Linked DNA regions of Homo sapiens: regions 2, 3, 4, 5, 6 and 7 are each linked to region 1. Evidence: promoter capture Hi-C in 16 types of primary human blood cells and fetal thymus (Javierre and others, 2016). All regions are on one chromosome and are shown on one strand. Each heading gives the region's core, a stretch centred on a gene start or on the middle of the fragment in contact. The rest is flanking DNA. Distances are from core to core; before and after follow the strand shown. Region 1 holds the start of CADM3 (cell adhesion molecule 3). Region 2 holds the start of SLAMF8 (SLAM family member 8). Region 3 overlaps CFAP45 (cilia and flagella associated protein 45). Region 4 overlaps LINC01133 (long intergenic non-protein coding RNA 1133). Region 5 holds the start of LOC105371464 (a long non-coding RNA gene). Region 6 has its middle 23 kb from the start of DUSP23. Region 7 overlaps IGSF9 (immunoglobulin superfamily member 9).

Evidence for each region. Contacts are between HindIII fragments. The CHiCAGO score rates a contact against its expected background, and 5 or more counts as called.
Region 2: the fragment with the promoter of SLAMF8 here is called in contact with the fragment with the promoter of CADM3 in region 1 in 2 of 17 cell types (endothelial precursors and M2 macrophages); the score reaches 5.7 in endothelial precursors.
Region 3: a contact is called between a fragment that was not itself captured here and the fragment with the promoter of CADM3 in region 1, in 1 of 17 cell types (endothelial precursors). The highest score is 5.2, in endothelial precursors.
Region 4: a contact is called between a fragment that was not itself captured here and the fragment with the promoter of CADM3 in region 1, in 2 of 17 cell types (naive CD8 T cells and endothelial precursors). The highest score is 5.2, in naive CD8 T cells.
Region 5: a fragment that was not itself captured here is called in contact with the fragment with the promoter of CADM3 in region 1 in 5 of 17 cell types (endothelial precursors, megakaryocytes, erythroblasts and 2 more); the score reaches 9.9 in endothelial precursors.
Region 6: a contact is called between a fragment that was not itself captured here and the fragment with the promoter of CADM3 in region 1, in 3 of 17 cell types (M2 macrophages, megakaryocytes and endothelial precursors). The highest score is 8.4, in M2 macrophages.
Region 7: a contact is called between a fragment that was not itself captured here and the fragment with the promoter of CADM3 in region 1, in 1 of 17 cell types (endothelial precursors). The highest score is 7.8, in endothelial precursors.

The regions. Positions count from the first base shown.
Region 1 is chr1:159,170,148-159,173,570 of GRCh38, forward strand. It overlaps CADM3 (cell adhesion molecule 3), which reads left to right and starts at 1,468. Exons shown (of 9, transcript NM_001127173.3): 1 at 1,468-1,706. The coding sequence starts at 1,619. RefSeq lists an enhancer at 605-1,105. The HindIII fragment of the contact is 6,448 bases long and covers 1-2,487 here.
Region 2 is chr1:159,825,388-159,828,927 of GRCh38, forward strand. SLAMF8 (SLAM family member 8) reads left to right here and starts at 1,486. Exons shown (of 5, transcript NM_020125.3): 1 at 1,486-1,551. The coding sequence starts at 1,512. The HindIII fragment of the contact is 24,464 bases long and covers 1-3,540 here.
Region 3 is chr1:159,875,889-159,879,691 of GRCh38, forward strand. CFAP45 (cilia and flagella associated protein 45) reads right to left here. Exons shown (of 12, transcript NM_012337.3): 9 at 1,461-1,574; 10 at 668-861. Among named protein-coding and RNA genes, the nearest start is that of VSIG8, 15 kb to the left of the region's middle. The HindIII fragment of the contact is 1,898 bases long and covers 591-2,488 here.
Region 4 is chr1:159,964,605-159,968,339 of GRCh38, forward strand. All of the region lies in intron 1 of LINC01133 (long intergenic non-protein coding RNA 1133), which reads left to right. It also overlaps a transcript of SLAMF9 not described here. Among named protein-coding and RNA genes, the nearest start is that of LINC01133, 5.2 kb to the left of the region's middle. The HindIII fragment of the contact is 3,020 bases long and covers 568-3,587 here.
Region 5 is chr1:159,804,274-159,807,974 of GRCh38, forward strand. It overlaps FCRL6 (Fc receptor like 6), which reads left to right. Exons shown (of 10, transcript NM_001004310.3): 2 at 2,323-2,343. It overlaps LOC105371464 (a long non-coding RNA gene), which reads right to left and starts at 2,757. Exons shown (of 3, transcript XR_922195.2): 1 at 1-2,757. The HindIII fragment of the contact is 3,499 bases long and covers 59-3,557 here.
Region 6 is chr1:159,756,598-159,760,300 of GRCh38, forward strand. It overlaps the pseudogene RPL27P2. Among named protein-coding and RNA genes, the nearest start is that of DUSP23, 23 kb to the right of the region's middle. The HindIII fragment of the contact is 1,789 bases long and covers 602-2,390 here.
Region 7 is chr1:159,927,980-159,931,659 of GRCh38, forward strand. IGSF9 (immunoglobulin superfamily member 9) reads right to left here. Exons shown (of 21, transcript NM_001135050.2): 12 at 3,474-3,624; 13 at 3,159-3,282; 14 at 2,713-2,888; 15 at 2,210-2,460; 16 at 1,912-1,996; 17 at 1,659-1,835; 18 at 1,372-1,414; 19 at 179-1,039. Among named protein-coding and RNA genes, the nearest start is that of TAGLN2, 4.3 kb to the left of the region's middle. The HindIII fragment of the contact is 2,658 bases long and covers 45-2,702 here.

The DNA of each region.
Region 1 (3,423 bases), core at 218-2,717:
TCTAGGGATAAAATATTAGCCTCACAGGATTGGAAGACACTTTAAAATCATATTGTTGCACATCCCAGCCAACACTTGTGTCTTCTACTATTAACTGTCAGTGTAACCTTGGTTCAGTTAGCCTCCTTTGAGCCTCAGTTGTACCTATATAATTAAGGGGTTGGAATAGACATTTTCTAAGAATTCTTAGATATCTAATATCATTTTATTCTAGAATTCTAACATTTAGAAATGTATTTCCAAAAGCTAAGTTTCAGTAAAACTGATTTAGAAAGATCCCTTTCTGAGATATATCAAGACTCGGAGATACTCAGTCACAAAGAATGGCAAACACCAGGGACTTGGGACACTTAAGCCAAGACCAAGTACAAACACCCTGCATCTCTCATCTTGTTATATCTGGCCTCAGGATTGACAGCAGCTTTGGTCACAGACGCAGGGGTCCTTGGAGGGTTTCTAGATCAGACTCTTCATCCATGAACCTTACTAACTCAAACTTGAGATGGGCGAGATCTGCAAAAGAACAAGAAAGAAGAAAACGTATTGGAGAAAGGGACCGGGGGTTAAAGAGATGTAATAGGGAGGGTTAAGAAAGAAAACGACTGAGTTGCTTTGTTAGGCTGCCAGATTGGGCAAGAGTCTGGGGTGAAATCATGTTTTCAGAGGGTGAGTTATTTCCTTGACATGAGATTGAGGGAGACATTGGTTCCCAAGGCCTGGGAGTTTGTTGGAAAATGCCTTTCAAGGGAGATTGCCTGGGGCCACGAATTGTTGCTGGACAGATAACTATGGGCTCTTGGGTAAGAGGAATCAGGGATGTTAGGGTTTAGGAAAATGATGAGAGTTAGCAATTATCCACTGGACAGGTGTCCCTGGGTACACTGTTGATAGGGGGACCCCAGGGCTTAAGGCCAGGGGCCACAAATTGTTGCTGGACAGATAACTATGGGCTCTTGGGTAAGAGGAATTAGGGATGTTAGCGTTTAGGAGAAGGCTGAGAGTTAGTAGTTATCCACTGGAGAGATGTCCCTGGGTACATGGTTGGTGGGGGACCCCAGGGCTTAAGGGGATCCCCAGTTGCCAAAGGATGGAGGGCGGAGCTGGAGGACCTCAGGCTAGTGAGCACGCCCTTGCCCAGGCCTGCAGTGGCTGCACTCGCCAGCTGGCCCATGGCCCTGTCCGACTCCCCTCCCTCCACCCCAAGCCTAAGAGGGGTGAGCGCAGGGTCCCACTGCTGAGCCAGCTCCCTCCCTCTGATCCACACCCGAGCCCGGCTGGCCGAGCTCCCGGGGGAGAGGGTGGAAGGCACCACGAAGGCAAGGAGGGGGTGTGGGAGGCGGGGGGTGTGGGGAATGCGGCAGCCTGGCCCCCCCGCGACCAGCCCAGCCCCCCGCCAAACCCCCTCCACCTCCAACCAAATGGTTTGCTCCGAGCGCCCTATTTAATCCCCGCGACTGCAGCAGCGCCGGCTCCCTCCCGGTCCCCACCTCGGCCCCGGGCTCCGAAGCGGCTCGGGGGCGCCCTTTCGGTCAACATCGTAGTCCACCCCCTCCCCATCCCCAGCCCCCGGGGATTCAGGCTCGCCAGCGCCCAGCCAGGGAGCCGGCCGGGAAGCGCGATGGGGGCCCCAGCCGCCTCGCTCCTGCTCCTGCTCCTGCTGTTCGCCTGCTGCTGGGCGCCCGGCGGGGCCAACCTCTCCCAGGACGGTGAGTGAGGGAGGGGGCGGCGCCTGGGGAGGTGGGGAGTGACCCGAGGCGGGGGCTGGGATCGGGAGTCTCGCGGAAGGAGCCTGTTGGCTTTGTTTGGAACCGGGGTTAAAGTCACCAGCCGCTGCTAATACCCTTGTGTCTGTCTCTGAGCATCCGTGTCTCTGTGGACTGTGGGTGTGCCGGTGTGTGCACCCTTCTGTGTACACCACTGAGCGTGTGTCTGCGTGTGCACCGGGGTTTGGCTCTCGGGGCTGATGTCCGTTAGGAGCAGCCCGGGGTCTGGATGTGTTGCTGTCCGTGTGCGCGCGCGTCTGTGTTGGTGTCTGGCTCTGCGTTTCTGTGTCAGTATCTGTGTGTATGTCTGTGTCAGTGTGTGTTGGGGGCGGAGTGAGATTTGTCGCTGTTTCAGTCAGGGCGTGTGTCGGGTGTTTGTGTATGTATGTCTGTAGGGGTTGGGTAGCCAGTGCAATCCCCCAAACTGCTGTATGCAAACATTTCTGCTCCCCCGCCCGTCCCCCACCACCCGCGGCGCAGCTCCGAGTGGGCAGAGAAGGGGGCCTGGGTGAGGCTGCTGAAGGGGGCGTGGGCAAAGAAGAGGGCCCTTATCCTTGGAGCAAAACAACAACACAGGGCGGAGGGGGCCCAGGATGGCAATATCCCTGGCAGTGGTAGAAGCTGGGAAAAGAAATCCGACAGGAGCAGAGGCGGGGTGGGGGTAGGGGGGAGCGCAAAAGAAAGAATCAAGATATTTGGGGAGGAGGATGCATGAGAAACCCAAAGCTTTCCTGGGCTAAGCACTGATTTTCCCAAATTTGGGATGGGGTAGCATACCTAGCCCCTTTGCCCCAGTCTGGAACTCAAACCTTCGCTGGTTCCTAATGGTAGAGAGATGAAGGAAGGGAGTCGGGGGAGAAAGGAGGCGGGGCCAGGGGTGAGGGGACTTGGGGAAGAGCCCCTCCCGCCCTGGGCCGGGCTATGTAGGTCAGCGCTGTGGGGGCACCTCAGCTTTCTTAAAGGCTACTAACGGTTAGTGGGATGCCAGAGGGGCAGCCTGTAGGGAAACCCGGAAGGGGTCCACAGCTCCGAGCCTCAGGTCCCTGAGGAGGGAGGGCAGGCTGTGAAGAGACTGAAGGAATGCATCCTCCTCCCCCCACCGCCCTGTCGGAAGAGGAGGAGGGCTGGGATGGAGGAAGGGGGAGAGGGAACAGGACCTCTGTGGAGCAAAGGGAAGTGGGGAGAGTGAAGGGGGAGGGTGGTGGCTATGCCCGGCCAGATGCCAACGAAAAACAGAAAGAACCGCAGGGGAGGAGAAAGGGGAGGTGGCTCCTGGGCGATGGACCCAGTGGCCAGCAGGGATGGGCACAGGGCGGGGCGGGGGTGGAGAGGGGAGGGGTTGAAACTGGGAAGGATGATGTAGAGAATTTCATCTGAGGAAAACAGGCGAAGAGCCAGGGTGCTGGAGGAATAATCGCTCCACCTCGCCTGACCTCCCCCATCCCTGTCTCCATCGTGATAAAGGAGCTTCCCCTGGTATGGGGACCCTGGGGATCCCCTCCCTATAGTTGGCTGGCTGGCTTACTCCTTCTGCCCTCTACCCATCAAACTCCCCAAAGGGAGTTCCCGCCCTAGTCACCACAGAGACAGCAGCCTCTCCTTTCCCCTACGTGGAATCCCCTTCCCCAGAGGACTGCACTGATGACCCCACTCACTGAGG
Region 2 (3,540 bases), core at 236-2,735, 660 kb after region 1:
CAACCTCTGGCTCTCTCCTTTCCTCATATTATCTAAACCATGCCCATCTTCAAGGCACAGCTCAAATTCCACCTTCTCAAGAAGCGTCCCCTGCCCAGATCCGCGAAGCCCTCTTTCCCACCCACTTCTGAGGACTGACTACCTGTTTGCACAAAGTGGTGTCTGTCTGCAGATAACCCTTCACTTTCCTTGGTGTACCTATCTCTACATTTTGGTTGTGAGTACCTGGAGGGCAAAAACCTTATCCCAAAATCCTCCTGCTCACCACCCACCCCCACCCCATCCTATATGCCTAGTTCCTGGCTGAGTCCAAAGCTCAGTGTCCAGTTTGATTGACAGGCGAGAGGCTGTGCAGGACCAGATACGATGAGCCACACTCCAGACTAGCAGGAATTTTCCTCAGGGGCAACACGTCCTCTAAAAACCTTCACTGGCAAGAAACCAAGAAACTTGAAGTGAGAAGAGAAACAGGATGAGGAGGGGATAACTGTGGCAAAATAGACCACACTTCAAAGGCTGAGGTTCAAGTTCCAGCTCTGCCTCTCTGTGAGCTCTGCAAGGGGCCTAACCTCACTCTGGTTTTCACATTTTCCCATTTCTAACCAGGTAACAAGATGATCCTCTCAGAGGAGAGTTGCAAGGCTTACATAAAGCCAGATGTGTAGCCATGTCTAGAATGTACTCACTCACTTAACAAATACTCATGAAACATCTGTAATGTGCCAAGCACTGAGGGCAACACAGAAGGGAACAAAAGACTGGCTAAACAGTCTGTGAAAACCAGAAAACTGTCATCAACAACACAGCAAGAGTAAAGAGGGAGGTGTGGGCATGCACAGGACACAAGGAGAGGGCCTCTCACCTGCCTGTGGTCAGGAAGCCTGGAAGGATGTCCTCGCCGACTGCACAGCCATGTTCTGTTTGCAAGGATAGAGGGAGCAGCATGCCTAGTCGGGGTGGTGGGGAAAGTACAACACAGGGAAGTGTGAAATCAGTAGTTCTGAGAAGGAGGCCTTCTGGCTTGGGATGGCTGGAGGGCAGAATGACTGTGGGCGACCAGCCTGGAGAAGAAGGCCTGACTCAGGAGGGCCTGCATGCAGAGCAGAGTTAGTCCTCATCCTCAGGTCCACGGGAGGCCACAGAAGCATTTTAAGCTAGAATGAGGATGACAGATAGTAGTGAGGCAGGCTGAGATGCAGGAAGGCCAGCGAGATCCAGCAAGGAGGATGTGGCTTGTGTGGGGGCTGTTGTCGCCACGTGTTAGCCAACCATGTGCATGTGAAAGAGGCTGACTTACAAGAATCTGCTCCTGTAAGCCCAGAGAGGCCCAGGGACAACTTCCACTTTATTCTGGATGTTTTCACTTTTGGGACATCCTGTTCTGAGTCAAGATTCCTCCTTCTGAACATGGGACTTTCCAGAAGGACCACAGCTCCTCCCGTGCATCCACTCGGCCTGGGAGGTTCTGGATTTTGGCTGTCGAGGGAGTTTGCCTGCCTCTCCAGAGAAAGATGGTCATGAGGCCCCTGTGGAGTCTGCTTCTCTGGGAAGGTAAGTGGGGCAGGCAGATAGCCTGTCCTCGGAGAGCTGAAGGCCCCTCCCCAGCTGCCTATGCCAGACGTCTGGGCAGGGATCCCTCGACCTGGGTGAGAACCCAGAAGCTGAGGGTGGGTAGGAAAGACTAGAACAAGCTCTTGGGCAACATTTTAAGCTAGGCAGATACAAAGAGATGCAGGGTCCTGGGAGGGAGGAGGTGGCAGCTTGAGGGGTATTCTTATCTGTGAGACATGAGCTGTTTTGTGGCCCAGAGCAGTAAAAACGGAGCCAGTGGGTGATACTGCTGGTTTGGAGAGAAAGTCGGCTGTGAGAATGGTGAGGACCCGGCAGTGTTAGCATGCAGAAACTCTGCAGAGTTTGAGGAGAGTAGCAGAGGGCAGGGCAGAGCAGGGTTCCCCACAATCAGCAGAGTGTGTTTTCAACAGCCTGTGGGGGAGCTGAGGTCCCTCCCTACAGGCCTTTATAAGGGGAGGCAAGTACTAAGTAGGGATGAGAGAGGCTAAATGTGGCCCACGTGGACTTAGGGGTGGCCGACGGTGGTGTGATGTTGGGATGGCTGATACACGGGGTCTCCTCCACACCGGGCGATCCCTCTATCCATCTGATGCCTGAGTTCCCTTCCTTGGTCAACAAGCAGCCAACATGACATGGGTCAACACTGCCGGGCCATGGATGAGGGTTTATGGGGTGCAGCAAAGATTAAGATGATATTGTTTACATCAGAGGCTCATAGGGACTTTGGGTTGCTTTGTTTCATCTCCTTGCCTGAGTTCCTGGCCCTGAGAGCTCCAAAGCCTGCAGATTTCTTCAATATTTCTAAACATGTGCAGGAAATCACACCTTAACCTCAAAAAAGGCCTTGGTCTGTTTGGTGAGACAAAAATAATTTGCCTTTTTTTTTTTTCTTTGAGACGGAGTCTTGCTCTGTCACCCAGGCTGGAATGCAATGGTGCATCTCAGCTCACTGTAACCTCTGCCTCCTGGGTTCAAGCGATTCTCCTGTCTCAGCCTCCTGAGTAGCTGGGATTACAGGTCACTGCCACTAAACCCGGCTAATGTTTGTATTTTTAGTAGAGACAGGGTTTCATCATGTTGACCAGGCTGGTCTCAAACTCCTGACCTCAAGTGATCCGCCCTCCTCAGCCTCCCAAAGTGCTGGAATTACAGGCATGAGCCACCACACCCAGCCCAAAAATAATTTTTCAAATGGCCCTTAATGATCAAAGATCTGTGTGACTGACCTGGTACAGACCCCTTATTTTTCAGTGGTACTGAAGCCTGGGGCAGGGTGATGTGTGGAAGGGCACACAGCTGATCTGTGGCAGCACCAGGAGGAGCAGGTAGGAGCAGCTAGGTCTTGGCTGACATCCAGTGCAATTCTCTTTGTGTGTTACATTCCTGCTCTGCATTAACACTGAAGTCATCTCCAGTGTGAGAGGAGGTTGTTGGGCCTGGAGGACAGTGAGGCAGAGGGGGACCGGAATTATCATGGCCGACTGAGCAACCATCCAGATCATGTCTCATTGACCAAAACTTCATCACCTCTTATTCTTCCCTACACCCTGTGCCAGCGACAGGCATAGGGTCAGTCCTCAGCAGGGTAGGTCATTTATTCAATACCATTTACTAGGCTTCTCCCACAGTCTGTTCTTAAACAGTGGTGGGCACTGGAAGCAAACGATGGGGAGAAAGAGCTCACGGTCTAGTGGGAGATGCTGACTCATAAACAGGCAATAAGAATAGAGGGATAAGGGTAGTCAGCATGGTGGCCCCAGGCCACTGTGAGAACACAAGAGAGAATATGTAACCTCTCTTGGTTACATTACCTATGAGGGATAGGGGAGGTCGGAGGAGGCAGTGATGCTACAAGAGTGGGCAGAAATTAGTCAGCAAAGGAGTCAGGGGGGCACTTCAAGGAGAAGCGTCTCCCATACACGTCTGACTCAAATATAGTCCCCCAAAACAGCATCTTGCTTTCTCACC
Region 3 (3,803 bases), core at 290-2,789, 710 kb after region 1:
CACTTATGTGTTGAAATTATCATTGAGCCAAAAGGGAAAACAAAAGTAAAAGGATAAATAGCTACCAAGGAAGAAAGATGGATTGATGTAGGTGCAGTCCATCCAAACACAAATCTCTAATACCTTTCCTGTGGAATGGGCAAGAGCAGTGTTTTGTTAATTGCTAATGTCCTCCATGGCATCCAGCACAGAGCCCTGCATTTCTGTGCTTAATATATATTTGTCAAATGAACGGCAAACAGCTCCCTTAAAGTCCTGCTCCAGTGACTCACAACCCTTAGTGTCTGAAGTTCTTTTCTCTATCTTTCCTAAACCACTCCTCTTGCAGTTTCATCCCCAATTTGCAGGGGCACATGGGTCAGAGGGCAGCAGAATGGACCAGAATTTTACCTTTATTTATACTTTTACTGTTCCAGGGTAAATAATCCCAGTCATCACCAATTCCTTAAGCAATTCCAGGTGCTATCTCCCAATTCTCTAATCACATAATTCTTGGCTCAAGTGATTTTTAAAAGTTTCAATCATCCATCTAGTTATAATGATCCCACCAACCCAGACAAGATCGACGAGCATCTGTTAACATGCCAGAAAGCTTCTCTCTATCCAATATGGACCATCCCTGCTACAGTACAAGGAAAGGAATCCAAGGTTCCCAGGCCCCTCCTACCGAAGAATCCTCTCGAACTCATCCCGGTCCCGTTGCACCTGAACAGCCAGAGCGTGCTCCTTGAAAGCCACCTGTTCGAGCCGACTTTTTCGCAGCTCAGCCTCTGTTTCCATCTTCTTCCGCGCATTTTCCTTTTCCTTTCTGCGCCACTCTCTGTCTGCAACCTCCTGGTTGCGCTTGGCCCGCAAGGCATCCTGGGAATGTTGGCAGGGGACCAGTGAGGGCACAAAATAGCTGGAAGTACAGACCAAGTGGCTTTAAGAAGATACCTACTTACAGACTCTGACAGTCTGCTTTGAAAAGCATCATGAATTTCTCTGGCAGCTAGTTATTCTAGGAAAAGATAAATGGAATCCTGTCATCAAACCTTTGGGTTAGAAGATAACCTGAGGGGTCATCTTGTCCTTCCAACCCACTCATCCCAGTTCTTTCCCTGTACCTCAGACATCTCCAGGCAGTCTTGAAATTGCTTCTAATTTTAAAAACTGCTAATGATGGAGATACCACAGGTTCCCCTGGTGACACATTTCATTGGTTGGTTAAGGTTGAAAGTTCTTCTTTATGGAGCAGCGAAAAACTTTCTCTTGAACCTTAAGCACAGGCTGCACTGCCCAATCCCTGCTGACACAGGCCCTGGGAGCAGGCCACCCCTTCCTTCTCAGACTACTGAAGTCTAGGTAACTTGCATCCTTTCCTCCGCATCTCCACCCTCAAGGCCATTCTACAGGCTGTCAAAGGGATGGATAGGCAAGGGAGTGGGAAAAGTAGAGGGAAGTCGAGACTAAGCAGGTACCTGTTCTGCCTGGTAATCCTGGGCCTTCTCCTGCATGGCCCTCAAGCGTGCGATCTCCTTCTCTTTCTCCCTCCGGATTCTCTCCTGCTCAGCCTCAAACTCTGCTTCTCGAGCCTGCCGGAAGGAAAGGCCTTGTAGAATAGTTGCCATTGCCCCAGCCTTGCAGAGAGAAACAAAACCCCTACAACAGACTTTCCAATATCTCCCCTACCACTTCCTGACTCCTTTTAAAATAGGACAAAATAAGGCCAGGTGCCGTGGCTCATGCCTATAATCCTAGCACTTTGGGAGGTTGAGGCAGGAGGACCACTTGAGCCCAGGAGTTCATGACCAGCCTAGGCCACAGAGAAAGACTCTGTCTCTACTAGAAATCTAAAAATTAGCCAGGCATGGTGGCATGTGCCTATAGTCCCAGCTACTCGGGAAGCTGAGATAGGAGGACTGCTTGAACCTGGGAAGTCGAGGATGCAGTGAATCATGATTGCATTACTGCATTCCCCTGGGCAACAGAGTAAGACCTTGTCTCAAAATAAATAAATAAATAAATAAATAAATAAGGTAAAATGAATTTAGCAATGCATGAATATAAAACAATTAGCATTTATAAAATGCTTTATTGTTTACAAAACACTTTCCTATGTGTTATCCTGGAGAGCCCTCACAACATTTCCTGAGACAGATATTATAGATGAGGAAACGGATGGTCAGAAAGATCAAGGGTCTTGCCCAAGATTGCACAGGAAGTAAACTACCTAACAGGATTTGAACACAGGTACCCTGACCCTGGCTTTCACACTCCTTCCACTATGTCATAGACAATTTTCAAGTTGCAAGGCTACTGGGCCAAGAAACAACTGGTCCTGTGCCTGTCTTGTAAAGTACAGCAGGTGGAGGTTATCTCATTAGTCCCTGGGCAAAGAGCCAACCATGCTTTGGGCAGTCCCACAGTGGTTACCAGATACTTAAAGAATGAACCACCAAAATTAGCTCCCTTTCCACCTCTCTGAAAAAACAGGTATATCCTTAAAAGCTTCCCAAGCCCGCTTCCCAACGCCATTCTTGAGCAATCGTAAGATGAATGGTGCAGGTTGGAGGCAAATGTGACATTTATAAAGAATCTTCCCGGCCAGGCATGGTGGCTCATGCCTGTAATCCCAGCACTTTGGGAGGCTGAGGCAGGCAGATCATGACGTAAAGAGATCAAACCAATCCAGGCCAACATGGTGAAACAGTGTCTATACTAAAAATACAAAAATTAGCTGAGCATGGTGGCGCATGCCTGTAGTCCCAGCTACTCGGGAGGCTGAGGCAGGAGAATCTCTTGAACCCGGAAGGCAGAGGTTGCTGCAGTGAGCTGAGATCGCACCACTGCACTCCAGCCTAGTGACAGAGCAAGACTACATCTAAAAAAAAAAAAAAAAAAAAAAAAAAAAACCTTCCTTGCCCTCATTCTACCTGCCCAGACTTCTGTGAAGCCCAGTGAGTTGTCCCTGTAAGTTGTACGGGGCTGTTGTCAAGCTGCTTCCTTTGTCCACCCTGCCCTAGATAACAGGACAGGGAACTCTGGGTGTTTCTACAACCAATTTCTGCTTTTAGCTCTGCAGGGGCAGCCCTGGCTGCAAGAATAGATACCACCGTGAGGTCGGTAAGGGCTTGTGATATACGTAGATACTTACGGTGGACTGTGGACATGCCCAAGTGCCTGATTCCGTGGCCAGTCTCCAGCCTCTCCCAGCTACACCTTGACAATGTCCTTTCCATGATAAAGACAAGATATACTCCTCTCTTGCTTAGAAATTCATGGCGACTCCTTATCATTCCACTCTTCCAGCTCCACTCAATGTCCAAGACACCCCAACAACTGCTCTTAGCTCTCTGTCATCTCACCACCCTCATTTCTTATTATATCCACTACCAACCCTCTGCTGCAGCCAGAAAATATGTGCACTAACTCCTACACAGAATTAGCTCATCATCCCCACCTTCATTCACTTGGGAAAATAGTGGTTGAGTTCCAATGGTACAGCATTATCCTAGGTATTTTCAGCCTAGTCTGACTGGACACATATTGAAGCATCCAGTATATTTTGAATCATCAGTGACCATTTCACAGGATTATTGTAAAGATTAAAAGAGATAACACGTGTAAAACACTTAGCACGGAGCCTATGCACAGACTAGGTGCTCACTAAATGATAGTTATGTGATTGTTATTATGTAGGAATCATCTATGTCCCCAAACCTGCATTCTCACTCTATTGCTTGCATAGAGTGTCCCCAGCATCCAATAAGAATACTAAAGCCAATAAGTGAGCTTCGCTGAGCTTCATTTTCTGTGGTTTG
Region 4 (3,735 bases), core at 828-3,327, 800 kb after region 1:
AGCAAACAAACAGCAAACAAAAACCAGAGGTTCGGAGTGGTGGAGAGACTCCCTCAAGGTCACAGTTTAACGGCAAACCTGGGGCCAAAACTCGGGTCTCCCGGTGTCTTGTTGGCAGGATTTTACTTGATTAAACAAATTTGAGAAGTAACAAAACTATACCTGGCATATAGAAAGCCCTCAGTGTTATTATTATTGTCATCATCAATAATGTGTATTTGTATTCCTTTGCTGTTATTAATTTGTATTTGAGACTGGAGGCACACAAAGAAAGCACAAAGGAAACAGAGGGGAGTGGCTTGAGGGAAGCCCTGGGCCACCCAGACGGGTCTGCACACGATGCCATTTTTCTTAGTTAATTCAGCACTTTTCACAATACAGGCTCAAACTCTAACTCATCAATGTCCCAGAGTTGATCAGAATCTGGAATGCTGCCTCATTTTATCAGAGATGTCATCAAACTGACATATAAAATTAGCCATTCATCCTACAATTATTTATCAAGCTTCAATTAAATGCCAGGCACTGTTCTAGGTGTGGGACACAGCAGTGAACAGGAAAACGCGAAGCTTACATTATTGTCAGAGTCAAGGTTGGGGGAAAGCAATACACAACAAACAGATCTGTACCGTCTGATCAGAACACTTTATAAAGTACCGTGAGGAAAAACAAGGCAGGATAAAGGAACACCAAGGGATGGGGGCAAGAAGCCTTTGGTTAGAGTGTTCTGATCAAATAGGCCAGTTGCAGCTCCATCGCCCTGACATTCCCTCCCTGTACACAGTCAGTTTGGGGAGTTGTCAACAGAAGGCTGCCTAGGGAACATGGTGCTAGAGGAAAAGAGATGAGCTAAGATTCAACACTCTGATGACAATCTATGGTATCCATCTCCAGCGAGGCTCCTTCTGTAAGGTTGCCTGGATACTGCATCTGGCTGACAGAGTCCCCAGACAGAACTTGAATAGGCACTGCCAGGGTGTGTACTTCTATGACTCTCCTTTTGCAATGGGCCCACACCACCCACCTCATTTTTCTAATAAGGTATGTACCTTCATTTGATTATTTGTGTCATTAGGGATAATTTGCATACCTCATCTTTGATCCACTATGTATTGTCTTAATACTTTGGAACTCAGAAGGCAATCTCATTTTCTCCTTTTCCAGGGCTATTCACCTTCCTTAGTCCCATATTAAAATGTTTCTTTTTAAAAAGATATAAATTATGCTTAATTAACAAATCATAATTATATTACATTTATATAGTACAATGTGATGTTTTGATATATGTCTACAATTCCAAGTGATTAAATCAAGCTAATTAACATATCTATCACTTCACTTCCTTGATATTTTTGTGGTGATATATTTGAAATTACACTTTTAGTTATTTTGAAATATACAACATATTATTATTGATTACAGTCATCCTGCTGTGCAGTAGATCTCAAAACTTATTCCTCTTGTTTAGCTGAAACTTTGTACCCTCAGACCAGTAATTCCCCATTCCTTCACTCCTCCTCTGCCCACTGCCTCTGGGATCCATTATTCTTCTACAAATTCAACTTTTTTTATATTCCACATCTAAATAAGATCATGCAGTATTTACCTTTCTGTGCCTGGCTTATTTCACTTAGCATAGTATCCTCTAGATTCATTTGTGTTGTCCAAAATGACAGAATTTCATTCTTTCTAAAGGCTGATTAGTATTCCATTGTGTGTATACACCTCATTTTCTTTATCTATTTATCCACTGATGAACATTTAGATTGAGTCCACATCTTAGCTATTGTACATAATGCTATAATAAACATGGGAGTTCATGTTAAAGGGATATCCTTTCAACACAGCCATTTTAATTCCTTTGGATATATTCTCAGAAGTGGGATAGTTGGATCATATGGAAGTTACATTTTTAGTTTTTTGAGGAACCTCCATACTGTTTTCCATAATAGCTGTACTAATTTACACTCCTACTAACAGTGTACAAGTGTTCCCTTTTTTCTGTGTCTTCATCAACACATGTTATCTTTTATCATTTTGATAAAAGCCATTCTAACAGGTGTGAGGTGATACCTCATTGTGGTTTTAATTTGCATTTACTTAGTGATTACTGATCCTGAGCATTTTTTAATGAACCTGTTAGCCATTTGTATGCCTTCTTTTGAGAAGTGTCTGTTCTAGTCATTTGCCCATTTTTTAATCATTACTTGTTTTCTTGCTAATGAGTTGTTTGGATTCCTCATATATTTTGGATTTTAACTCCTTATCAGATGTATAGTTTGAAAATATTTTTTCCCATTCTGTGGGTCTGTTCACTTTGTTGTTTTTGTTTTTTTGTTTGTTTTTGTTTTTGTTTTGCTATGCATAAACTTTTTAGTTTTATGCAATCCCATTTGTTTATTTTTGCTTTTGTTACCTGAGGTGTCAGAGTCAAATCCAAAAAATTCTTGTCCAAACCAATGTAATGAGGGTTTCCCCTTATGCTTTCTTCTAGTAGTTTTATAGTGTCAAGTCTTACATTAAAGTCTTTCCCGTTTTGAGTTTTTTTTATTATACTTTAACTTCTAGGGTACATGTGTACAATGTGCAGGTTTGTTACACAGGTATACATGTGCCATGTTGGTTTGCTGCACCCATCAACTTGTCTTACATTTGTTATTTCTCCTAATGCTATCCCTCCCTTGAGTTGATTTTTATGCATGGTGTAAGATAAAGATCTAATTTCATTCTTCTGAATGTGGATAACCAGTTTTCCCACACCATTTATTGAATAGATTGTCCTTTCCTCATTGTAGGCTTTTGGAACCTTTGTCAAAAATCAATCAACTATAAATGCATTGGTTTATTTCTGTTCCATTGGTTGATGGATCTGTTTTTATGCCAGTATTTGATTACAATTTCCTTATAATATACTTTAAAGTCAGGTCGTGTGATGCCTCCAGCTTTGTTATTTTTGCTCAAAATTGTTTTGGCCATTTGTGGTCTTTTGTTGTTCCCTACGAACTTAAGGATTGTTTTTCTATTTCGCGAAGAGTGGCATTGGAATTTTAATAGAGATTGCCTTGAATCTGTAGATTGTTTTGGGTTAATATGGACATTATAACAGTATTAACTTTTCCAATCCATGAACATGGAATATCTTGCCGTTTATGTGTGTTTTCATTCATTTCTTTCATTAGTATTTTATAGTTTTCAGTATATAAGTCTTTCACCTCCTTAGTTAAATTTACATCTAACTATTTTATTTTATCTTTTGTTGCTATTGTAAATGGGATCGTTCTTAATTTTCTTTTTGGATAGCTTGTTATTAACATACAGAAATGCCACTAATTTTTATATGTTGATTTTGTATCCTGCAACTTTATGGAATTTGTTTATCAGTTCTAAGGGTTTTTGATTTTTAGAGTTTTTTATATATATAAGATCATTTCATCAGCAAATGAAGACAATTTCACTTCTTCCTTTACTATTAAGATGGCTTTTATTTCTTTCTCTTGAATAATTGCTCTGGCTAGGACTTCAAGAACTACGTTGAAAACGAGTAGTGGAAGTGGGCATCCTTGTTGTGTTTCTGATATTTGAAGAAAAGCTTTCAACTTTTCTCCATTGAGTATAATATCAGCTGTGGGCTTGTTGTATATGGATTTTACTGTGTTGAGGTACATTCTCTCATACTTACTCTTTTGAGAACTGTTCACACCACCCCATCTCATTTTTGTAATTCTTTAGGGATAG
Region 5 (3,701 bases), core at 558-3,057, 630 kb after region 1:
CTCTAGTTTCCATTTCTGTCCTATAAAGTAACTCAGAATAAGTCTCCCCCTTCTTTTAAGCTTAGCCCACCAAGTATTTTGTGTCTTTCCTCTGTTGCATCTTTCCCAGATAAATATCTCCCGATCCCTCAGAAACTTTAAGAGGAAATTATCCTGCTCCTAGAGTTGGCAGGGGCTCCTGCCTTCATTTTTCGGAATTCTATTACGCAACTTGGTTTGACCATAGCTCTTGGCCACTTCATGATACTGTCACCTCATCTTCAGCCTATAGCTAATGGAGGTCCCTGGGCCCTCATTGCAGGAACTGCTGTAAGCAGGTGTCACCCCCTGTGTATGTTCCCAGTTGGCTGCTGTTTTGATTGCAGAAACCAATTTTGTAATCCCACCTCCAAGATCTTGCAGTACCATGGGGAGCAAGTCATTGAGATTTGGGGACAGGAGCTCATTTTAAGTGCATCTATGCTTCCTGAGTGCCTTCTGTCTTGTTTTTGGCTTCAGTAGTCTCAACCCTGTTTGTTTAGCACTTTGTAGCTGCACAATTGTTTTCCAGTGAGGTGGGGAAGGGAAGGAAGACATAACTACAGAGTAAGGTCTCTGTCACTCTGAGGTCAGGCCTTCTTTCTGCTTTCAGTTAATGTAGTAACCACTTTCCCAGGCAGTGGGTCAACATAACCTTCACAACTACACTGTAAGAAAAAAATGACTATTATCATTTCTATTATGTGATATGACAGAATGAGATATTGAAGGCTCTTGGAACTTAGACAACTTGTTCAAGGTCGTACAGAAAGAGGCAAATTCATGACTCAAGTCCAGGTCATCTGATTCCAAATCCTGCATGCTTTCCACTACACCGAGCTCATAGATGGGGGTTAGGGGTGGAGATGGAGGGATGATAAAGAAGAGACTCATTGTTCTGCACACTCTTGAGAGCATATGACTGAGCTGACCCTGAGCTGAATAGAGAATTGAGCTGAAAGATTCCACCTGTGTCCAAAGTAGTGTAGAAAGCAAAGATGATACCATGTGACAGAGCCAAACATCTGCTCTTAGAGGGTTTTCACCCACCCTTCCCAAGGCCATTCTTGCATTTTTTTTTTGGTGTTATGTAAAATACCTAGGACATGCCAGCAATGCAGGACACAAGTAAATGTATGAGGATTGGCTGGACTGACTGCACTCAGCCCTACATTCATTCATTGTTTCACACCTTGCCCCAAAGTCCAGAAGATTCTTCACTGCTTCATATCCAGCTATGACCTTCAATTTCAGGTCTTCCATTGTTTGGGCTATTCAAACCTATCTAACCATATCTGTCATCATTTTGTGAGTTGGCCCCTCTTCCCAGGTCACCTGTTCTCACACATTCACTCATTTAAAAACATGAATGTAGCACATCCAAGATGCAAGCATGATGTGGGATGCATCCAGTTTGTTTGTAGTTCTCTCATTCATCCATGCTGCCTGATAATGTCTCACATCCTTTAATGATTACTCTTTCAGGGGACTTATCCTCCTCAGTCTGGTCACTTCCATACCCTTTTTGCCAGAGCTCTGTGGAGAGATGGGACCACAAGAATCAGGTCCTGCCCTTGCTATATGGGTTCTCCTGTAGATGTTGGAGGTAGGACCCTCAGGCACATTCGTACAAGAGTCTAGTCCTATGTTTTCTACTTTTTGCTTCCCACCTCGTACAATGGGATGCAAAGGAAAACATTCATGCATTTATTCAGCAGATGCTTACTGAACACAGACTATGTTCCAGGCACAGGTCTTGGGCATAGAAAATATAGCAATGAGTAAAATAAGCAGAGTCCCTGCTACTATGGAGCTTATATTCTAGCCAGAGAGAGAGGTGATAACATGTAGGCAATTTAATGAATAAGATAAATTCAAATAGTGATAAGTGTTTTGAAGATAATACAATGGGGCATTGTTTTAGTGATTGGGGAAAATTCTTTTGATTGGAGTCCCAGGGAAGACCTGTTTGAGAAGGCAACATTTGAACTGTGATAGGGCAAAGAGTTCTAGGGAGTACGTCCAGCACAAACGTTGAGTAGTCAAGTGGCCGGGTGGTTGGGTGGTTGGGTGGTTGGATGGTTGGATGGTTGGGTGGTTGGATGGCTGATGGCTGGGTTGTTTGGTGGTTGAGTGGTTATGTGGTTGGATGGTTGGATGGCTGTGTGGATGGGTGGCTAGGAGGTTTGGTGGCCGGGTGGTTGGTTGAATGGGTGTAAGTCCCCATTGCTGAAGTGACAGGCCTCCTTGTCAGAAAGCTCTTTTTGCTACTTAACCTAATTGTGTTACTTTGTTCTCTTGCAGTTCCCTGTGTTGGGAAAACTGGTAAGTTGTGTCCATGTCTCTTCTAATTCAAAGTATGTCTATGGGCCAAAACTTACTGGATGGGAACAGGACAGTGCCATGGGGTCCCCCAGAAACATCTGCAGAGCAGCACCAGACTAGGCCCCTTCCTCAGGAGTCTTGGCCAGTTCCTAGGAAAAGGAGGAACTTGGAACTCCACTAGTCTAAGGCCAAGGGTAGTCCTAGGGTGACACAAGCCTCAGCAGTGGGACTCTAGGCCTCTATCTTATACCCTTAAAAGTGTCTGTGGCCTCTGTCTTCTCTTCAAGTGGTTCTGGAGCTCTTATATTCTCAACTCAACAAGACTGGGACTCCCTTCCTTCCTTTTATGTTCAGAGAAGCAGCAGGCACCTTTTTCTGCTGATCAGTCTTCCTTCCTTCCTCAGATCCCCTTCCCTCCAGCCCATTCTGTGACACTGACCTCCATGGAGCTTTCTGTCAAACAGGAAAAAATTCTGATCTATGAAATCTTGACCTCCAAGGACATATTCTGTGATTCCAGGGGGAGATAATTCAAACCAATACTTAGTGCTGTTAGAAAAAGCAGTAGTGGAAGCAAGACCTGCTGTTCGGTAATGCGGTGAGCATCGTTACTTCCAGGGTGAGGAGAGTGGGTCCTAAGGATCCAGAAGATCCAGGCAAGAGCAGGATGTGCTGGGGCTCCCTAACTGTTACTCCTCATTAGTCTCAGGCCATCAGGCCTGCTCAGAAGGCTGTCTGGGAATGGGGGTGTCTGGCTTATCAAAGAGATGATACAGGCTGGGGACAGATACAGGCTGGGGACAGATACAGACTGGGGACAGGCTCAGCCTGCCCTGCAGGTGATGGTGGATCCCTGGGAGCTCTTCTCCTGCTCACATCAGTGCACAGAATACATTTTAGGAATAGAGACAGAGAGAACAGATCCCTTCCATAAGAGTGGTGGAAGATGAAACGCCCTGCTGAGGGTAGAGATGGAGGCTGGGCCTAAGGAAGCCCAATGAGGAAGACAGGAGGGAGAGAACTCAGGCTGTGGCACCTCCAACATGCCCCACCAGCTGCTTTCTGGTGGACACAGATGCTGCTATTATCAGAAGTGAAGGCTGCAGAAAGTGTCACATTAGGTAGCCACAGGAGGAGAAGCCAATCTAGGCTGGAGGGAATTGAGTCAGGAGGAATGAGGCAAGACAATGAACAGAATGAATGCAATTAAGCCAAGCTTGGCAAGGCAGACAGGAAAGTGCAATATAAAAGAAGACAAGGAGGGTGGGTGGGAGGAAAGCCAGAGAGAAGACACAGGGAGAGGAAAGAAGGGGAGGGGAAGGGAAAGGAATAAAGAGAAAGAGGGAAGAGGAAGGAGA
Region 6 (3,703 bases), core at 246-2,745, 590 kb after region 1:
TCTAAGAGGAAGTTGAGCATGCTGCTGTGTTCCTCAGGGATGTCCTGAAATGCCCCCTGTTTGCAGTGTTGTGAAATGTTGTAGATTCTCTTCCAGAATTTTCTCCTCCATACCAAAGTCTAAAAACTATTTGTTGATAAAGGTTTTAGGCAATTACTTCAGAACATAGCTCCATGTGTTGGGTTTTCTGAGCAGTCAGCTATGTAGAAGCTTCAGTTAGCATTCTTTCTCTCTCTCTCTCTCTCTATCTCTCTCTCTCTCTCTCTCTCTCATCCTTCCCATCCACATTTGCAGGTAGCATGCCCTTGGCAGCGTTGATCCCATAAACAGAATAGTAAGCAACTACTTGCCTGGTGTAATTTGAGATGTGGCACAATCCCCCTGCTCAAAATATCATCCCCACCAAATGCCACAGGGCCTAAAATTCCCAGTATTCAACTCACGGCAGCTAATCTTCTCTTGCTTCACCCCATCATCTCTCCTAATACCTGCACGTGTGAAGCATGTCCATCCTTCCGGGCCTAACTCAACATCACTTTTTCCTGAAGCTTTTGTGATTGCCCAGTTGGAAGTGATCTCTCATTCCTCTGAACATTCAAAAAGCTTCACTTGTGCCGCTTTTATGTTACATATTACTTTATATTTAAACACATGTACTATGTCCCACCAGGCATAATCTGGAGATTCAATTCCTCTGCTGACTCTTATTTATCTTTGTACCACCATCCCATCCTCAAGTAACCAGACCCAGAGCTGACAGTTAATAAAGAATCAGTATCTGACCAATGGGTGCTATATGGGTGAATGAGGAGTAAGACACAGCTTCTCCTGGGCTGAGATTTTGCTGCTCACTAGCTGTGTATACTTCAGCAGTCACTTCAGTTTTCAGAGCCTTATTGTCTTCCTATAAAATAAGGTCATTGAAGAGTTATAAAATTCCAGAGCTCTCTCAGCCATCATTGCTAATCTACTGGATGATCTTACAGCTCACACTGGTTCAGCAAAAGCCCAATATTATTTGCATTCACTTTTGGAAATGGCTTGACAAAATATATACTGTATTAAGGTCTTTAAAAAGGAAAAAGGTAAATTTTTAAAAAACAGTAAGATAAGGCCAAATAAAAAGCAAACACACAGAAATAAATTATTGATGGTCCTATTTACTTACGAAGTAGGACATAAATTTAGCTTTGAGCTTCATAGCAACCAAAGCAAAAATGTATTAAAGTAAAAGTCTATTGATTGCTCAAGAAAATACAGATTTTCCTGTTACTAAATTCAAAAGAAATTGATGTAGTAAACTTTGTACTCAAAAATCCCAACAATGAATATGCCAGAAAGTTTCATAGAACTATTTCCTGCAGTATTCTTTTACAAGAGTGTTCCAGTTATCTATCGCTGCACAACACCAAAATAGTGGCTTAAAGTGACAGCATTGTATATTATTATCTTACTGGGGATAGAGGGGCTAAGCTAAGCAATTCTCACTTACAGTCTCTTACAGAAATGTAGTCACAAAGTGACTGGGTCCGAAGTAACCTGGAGCCTAAGTTAGGAAGATTCAAACAGCTGGAGGCTAGAACAGTTGGTCCTCTTCAGATACCTCTCGAGGTCCCTCCATGTGACTCCAGCATGGCAGTGTTAGAGCAGCTAGAACTCTTACATGAAAGCTCAAGTGCTGAGAGGGAGACAACCAAGCCAACTTTAGCACCTTTTATGAGCTAGCCTCAAAAATCACATAGTATCACTTCTAACACATCCTATTTGCTAGAATCAAGCCACGAAGACCAACCTATATCCAAGGGAAGGGTATTTTAGTCTCCATCTTTTGATGCGGGAGTGAGATCCAAGAAAGTGAGAATATGTTTTAAAACCATGATTAAGGAAAAAATAGAAATTTGCTATTCAATAAATGCTATTCTTTGGAAAGCCAAAGAAGAAATACTTCAGCTTGATTCAGGGATAAAATTTAGAATTACAGAGTTGTGCTGTTCAATATGGAAGCCACTGGCGTGAGTGGCTATTTAAACTTCATTAAAATTAAATAAAACATTTTCAGTACCATTATTTTGTTTTAACAGCCACATTTCAAATGCTCAATAGCCACACATGGCTAGTGACTATTAACGACGGACACACAATTACAGAACATTTCCATCAATGCAGAAAGTTCTATCGAGCAACAGTTACCTAGGATAATGAAAGAACAATATATCCTTAATAGAGGCTGAGGTGTAGGGAGCATTACTTGAGCCCACAAATTCAAGGTTACAGTGAGCTACGATCATGTCACTGCACTCCAACCTGGTGACGGAGCAAGACCTTGTCTCTAAAAAGAAAAAAAAACTATATATTCAGCTGTCAATTAGAACTGCTAAGTCTTCTAATTAAGCTTTTGGTAGGAATTGGGCAAAAGAGATGTCCAAACTGTAACATTTGACAAGACTATGAACTGCATAAAATCTGTGTTGCTAAAAAAAGATAGTCCATATGCCTTAAAAATCAACCAAGTAGGAGGTAGATTCACTTCCCTTAAATAAGACGAAGGTAGGCCTGGGTGGTTGCTGTCAAAATGGGCAAGTTCATAAAACCTGGGAAAGTAGTGTTGGTCCAGGCCAGACACTACACCGGATGCTACTCTGGATGCAAAACCATCATCGTGAAGAACATTGATGATGGCACCTTAGAATGCCCCGTCAGCTGTTCTCTGGTGGCTGGAATTGACTGTTATCCTTGCAAGGTGACAGCTGCCATGGGCAAGAAGAGCACCCAGAGGTCAAAGACCAAGTCTTTTGTGAAAGTTTATAACTACAATCATCTCATGCCCACAAGGCACTCTGTGGATACCCCCTTGGACAAAACTGTCATCAACAAGGATGTCTTCAGAGACCCTGCTCTTAAACACAAGGCCCAAAGGAAGGCCAAAGTCAAAATCAAAGAGAGGTAAAACCTGGGCAAGAACAAGTGGCTCTTCCAAAAGCTGTGGTTTTAGATGTTTTGTTTTGGTCATTAAAAATTTAAAAAATAAGTCAGGTAGTGTGATGCCTCCAGCTTTGTTCTTTTGGCTTAGGATTGACTTGGCAATGCAGGCTCTTTTTTGGTTCCATATGAACTTTAAAGTAGTTTTTTCCAATTCTGTGAAGAAAGGCATTGGTAGCTTGATGGGGATGGCATTGAATCTGTAAATTACCTTGGGCAGTATGGCCATTTTCACGATATTGATTCTTCCTACCCATGAGCATGGAATGTTCTTCCATTTGTTTGTATCCTCTTTTATCTCCTTGAGCAGTGGTTTGTAGTTCTCCTTGAAGAGGTCCTTCACATCCCTTGTAAGTTGGATTCCTAGGTATTTTATTCTCTCTGAAGCAATTGTGAATGGGAGTTCACTCATGATTTGGCTCTCTGTTTGTCTGTTGTTGGTGTATAAGAATGCTTGTGATTTTTGTACATTGATTTTGTATCCTGAGACTTTGCTGAAGTTGCTTATCAGCTTAAGGAGATTTTGGGCTGAGACAATGGGGTTTTCTAGATATACAATCATGTCGTCTGCAAACAGGGACAATTTGACTTCCTCTTTTCCTAATTGAATACCCTTTATTTCCTTCTCCTGCCTAATTGCCCTGGCCAGAACTTCCAACACTATGTTGAATAGGAGTGGTGAGAGAGGGCATCCCTGTCTTGTGCCAGTTTTCAAAGGGAATGC
Region 7 (3,680 bases), core at 124-2,623, 760 kb after region 1:
TTAGGTCATGGGTTTCCCCTGAAAAATCCCTGGACCTCAGCAAAAGCTTCTAAAAGGGACAAGTTTTCCCGTTCCCAGGGTGGGAGTGGAGCAGAGAAGGTGCAGGGTATTGGGAGAGGGGTGAGAGGTCTGGGGTGGGACTGAGGCGGAGGCAGGGATGGGCAGGGACTGCTCTCACCTCTTGCTGACTGTCACCACATGCTCCCTTCGGGGCCATCTCTCAGGGCCACTGGCCCAGCTGCTGGTGTCTCCTGGAGCAGGGCTGAGGTAGCTGCCTCCTGCAGAGGGGGCTGTGGAGGGGGGCCGCAGGAACGAAGCGCTGCCTCGCCCACTGCTCTGGCTGGTGAGGCTGCCTCGAGGGGCAGCAGGGAGAAGGCCTGGCAGCAGCCGCTCCCTCAGTGTCCAGTCAGCCAGGGCTGTGTAAGGGGGCTCTGCAGTGGCCCCAGCCCCTACCACAGCCCCAGGAAGTGATTCCCTGGGGGATACAGGAGGGGTTTCTGGAGAACGAAGGAAAGATGAGGTGGGACAGCGCCGGGTATCCATGTAATCTGGGGGTGCAGCAGGGCTGGGCTCCTCAAGCGGGGGCCAGTCCCCATCCACATTCATCTCTCGGAAGAAGGGCAGGCTCAGGTACTGGAGCAGGGGTCCAGGACCTGGCAAGGGACTGGGTGGGGCTGCTGGAGGGGGTGCCACAGGGCTGATGTCTTCAATGCAGAGGGGCTGGGGTGCCCCACTGGGGCTGCTGCTGCTACAGTCAAAGGACCGGGCCAGACGCTGGGCTGGAGTCCGAGGTTCTGCCTGCTCCCGGCCTGACCTTTCCTGGGGGGCCGCCACAGTGGGCCCCATCACAAAGCGCCCGTCTGGGCCCCGGCAAATGGGCTCCAGAGGTAAGGGTCCCCGGCTAGATGGAGGATCCGGGTGGGGGCTGGGAGTTCCGGCAGGATCCCCCCAGAGCAGACTCTGGCGCAGGCTGGGGACTGGGGATCCCTGGAGCTTCAGCTTCGCCACGCTGTCAGGACTGCCTGAGCCCAGAGCAGAGCTGGGGAAGGACAGGAGATCAGGGTCTGTGGTAGGGGCAGGTCCCCCTCCCAGGAGCCAGCGTCAGGCCTTGAGAGGTTTGGTGAACAACAGAGCAGAGCTAGGAAGAACAAGCGAGGAAAGGACCAACAAGGTGGAGGGGTGGAGGGAAGGCACAGGCCATACTGGAACGGCCTCAGGCTGGGGCCACTGCACACCCCTTCTTACCCTCTCCCACTTTTGTTCCTCCCCAACACCCAACATCCCCCTGGTAAAGATGCAAAAAAGGAAGCAGAAGATACTGGCACGTACAATGGAAAGGCAGAAGAAAGCCAAGGAGGTGGAGGCACTTACGGTGCAGCTGACTTCCCGGTCGGAGAGAAGATAAGAGGTGGATCTGGAAGGGCATGAGAATAGTAGGTGACACAGGCAAAAATCAAGGCCCTCTAGGCGGAGACTCTCTCACCCAACACCAGGCGCCCAACCCCATCCGGCTGGGAAAAGCGTAGGCAGGACCAGATGCAGGACTAAGAGAATGCACCTGGATCACACAGGAGCGAGGGCTTTTCCCCCAGGTAGGAGGGGCTTAAGGAGGCTAGGCCCAAGTGCGCAGTAGCAGGGCTGAGGGTGGAGGGACTTACCTTGGCGGAGGCGCTTGCGGCGGCGGCGGGCAGCCCTGCGCCGGTTCAGGAGGCAGCCGGCCAGGATGCTCACAAGGACGGCCACTCCCAGAAAGCAGACTCCGCCCACCACGCCGGCCAGCACGGGCTGAGGCAGGAGGCCCGGCAGCTGCGTGCGCGAAGGGTAGACCTCCAGACCTAGGCAGGGGTCCACGAGGGAGGGTCAGTGGACTCGGAGCAGCCCTGGGGCTCCTCCCTCACGCCAGGTGCTCACCGGAAGTGGAGACGTTGGCCGTGTTGCTGGGGTCGCTGACGAAGCTGCCCGCGAAGGCCACGAGGCGGAACTCGTAGAGAACATCCTGCGATGGGGATGGGGTACCAGGAGGGAGGTCAGGGCCCAGCACCGCCCAACCCAGCGGGGCGCGGAAAGACCGTGCACGTGGGACGGAAGGGTGAGGTAGGACGCAGAGGTGAAGAGCTCAAATCAAGATGAGAAGATAGAGTTTGGGGAATGGAGAAGGACGCAGGAGAGCCCCTAGGAGGCCTCTCTCTGTATCGCCTTTCGCACATACCTTGATGAGGCCTGGCACCAGCAGCTCTGTTTCTGTGCCTGCCACAGCCGGGTCCAGCACCTCCCAGCCCTGGGAGCCTTGCCGGCCTTCCAAGACGTAGCCATCCAGTCTCTTAGGGACCAGCTCTGGGGGATCCCAATGCAGGAGTACCCCCCGGGGTGTCCTCACTGCCACCAGACCCCGCGGAGGGGACAGGGGAGGCGGTATCTCTGTTGGGGGAAGCCCGGGTGCAGCTGGCGTGGTAGGAAGCCCTGCGTGGGACAGAAAGGCAGGTCAGAGCAAGGATTCCCAGCGCCCCTCCCCTGGCCTTCCACAACTCCCAGTGCCCAACTCTTCTCCCAGAACCCCTGAAGACAAGCTCAAATCATCTTCCACACACCCCTCTGGACCCCAAGCTGGCCAGCACCTCTGCCCCTTCCCACCCAGGGCCTCCCATATCCCAGCTCTCCCAGCAGCCCTTCCCCATCCTTGTCTCTGCTGTTCTGGGACGAGAAGCTTCTCACCTTCCGGAGCAGACAAGACGATTTCGCTGAAGGGACCACTCCCCAGCTTGTTCTGAGCTAGCACGCTGAACTGGTACTGGGTGTGGGGCTGCAGCCCTGGCACTAGGAGGTGAGCAGCCCCCACAGGCACTGCCAAGGACACCCAGTCATGGTGCATTCGGTCAGGACGCTTGGCCCTGGGAGACATGAGGACATGGGGGGCACCTCGTGAGCTAGGAAGACCAGAAGATCTGGGGTCCAGAGATCTAACCACCTCCCCTCTGCTCAACCATCCAAGGTCTCAGGACCTTGGCCCTGAATGCCTCAGAATCTGGAAACAGGGAAGCAGAGCCAGGACTGGTGAGGGATAGAGGGACAGAAGAAAGGGCAGAAGGCCAGATAGGTTCAAGGAGGAGAGGAAAGGAGGCAAGATTGGCACAGAGAAATGGCAGGAGCAGGTCACTCACAGTGGGGTGTACCAGACACTGAATCTCTGCAGATAACCACCATCAAAGCCAGGCTCCCAGGAGACATTGGCACCCTTGGGCAAAGCCACCACGGACACATTGGTGACAACATGAGGGCTAGTGCCTAGGCAGGGGGGAATGGAGGGATGGTGGTCAGGGCCTGAGGGAGTGTACAGAGTAGCAGGGGCCCCAGGGCCACTGACCTTCACCCATCATCATCCCAGGGGTCCCACACCCATGATCCTCTTTCTGGGCCTCCAAAAACGATTCCCAAGTAGTTTCTCCCAGCCCCTGGCCCTCTCTCCAGCCACTAACCCAGCACGTAGACGTTCGTGGAGGTGGCCACTCGGGCCACAGCATTGCTGGCACTGCATTCCCAGTGCCCGTGGGCCTCCTTGGTCAATGGTCGCAGGATGAGGCTGCTGTTGCTGTCCACCTGGGCCTGGCCTTGCAGCCCCCGGCCCACCTACAGAACCACTGGTGAGCCCTGAGGACACACGCAGCCACCCCTCACCAAAGGCG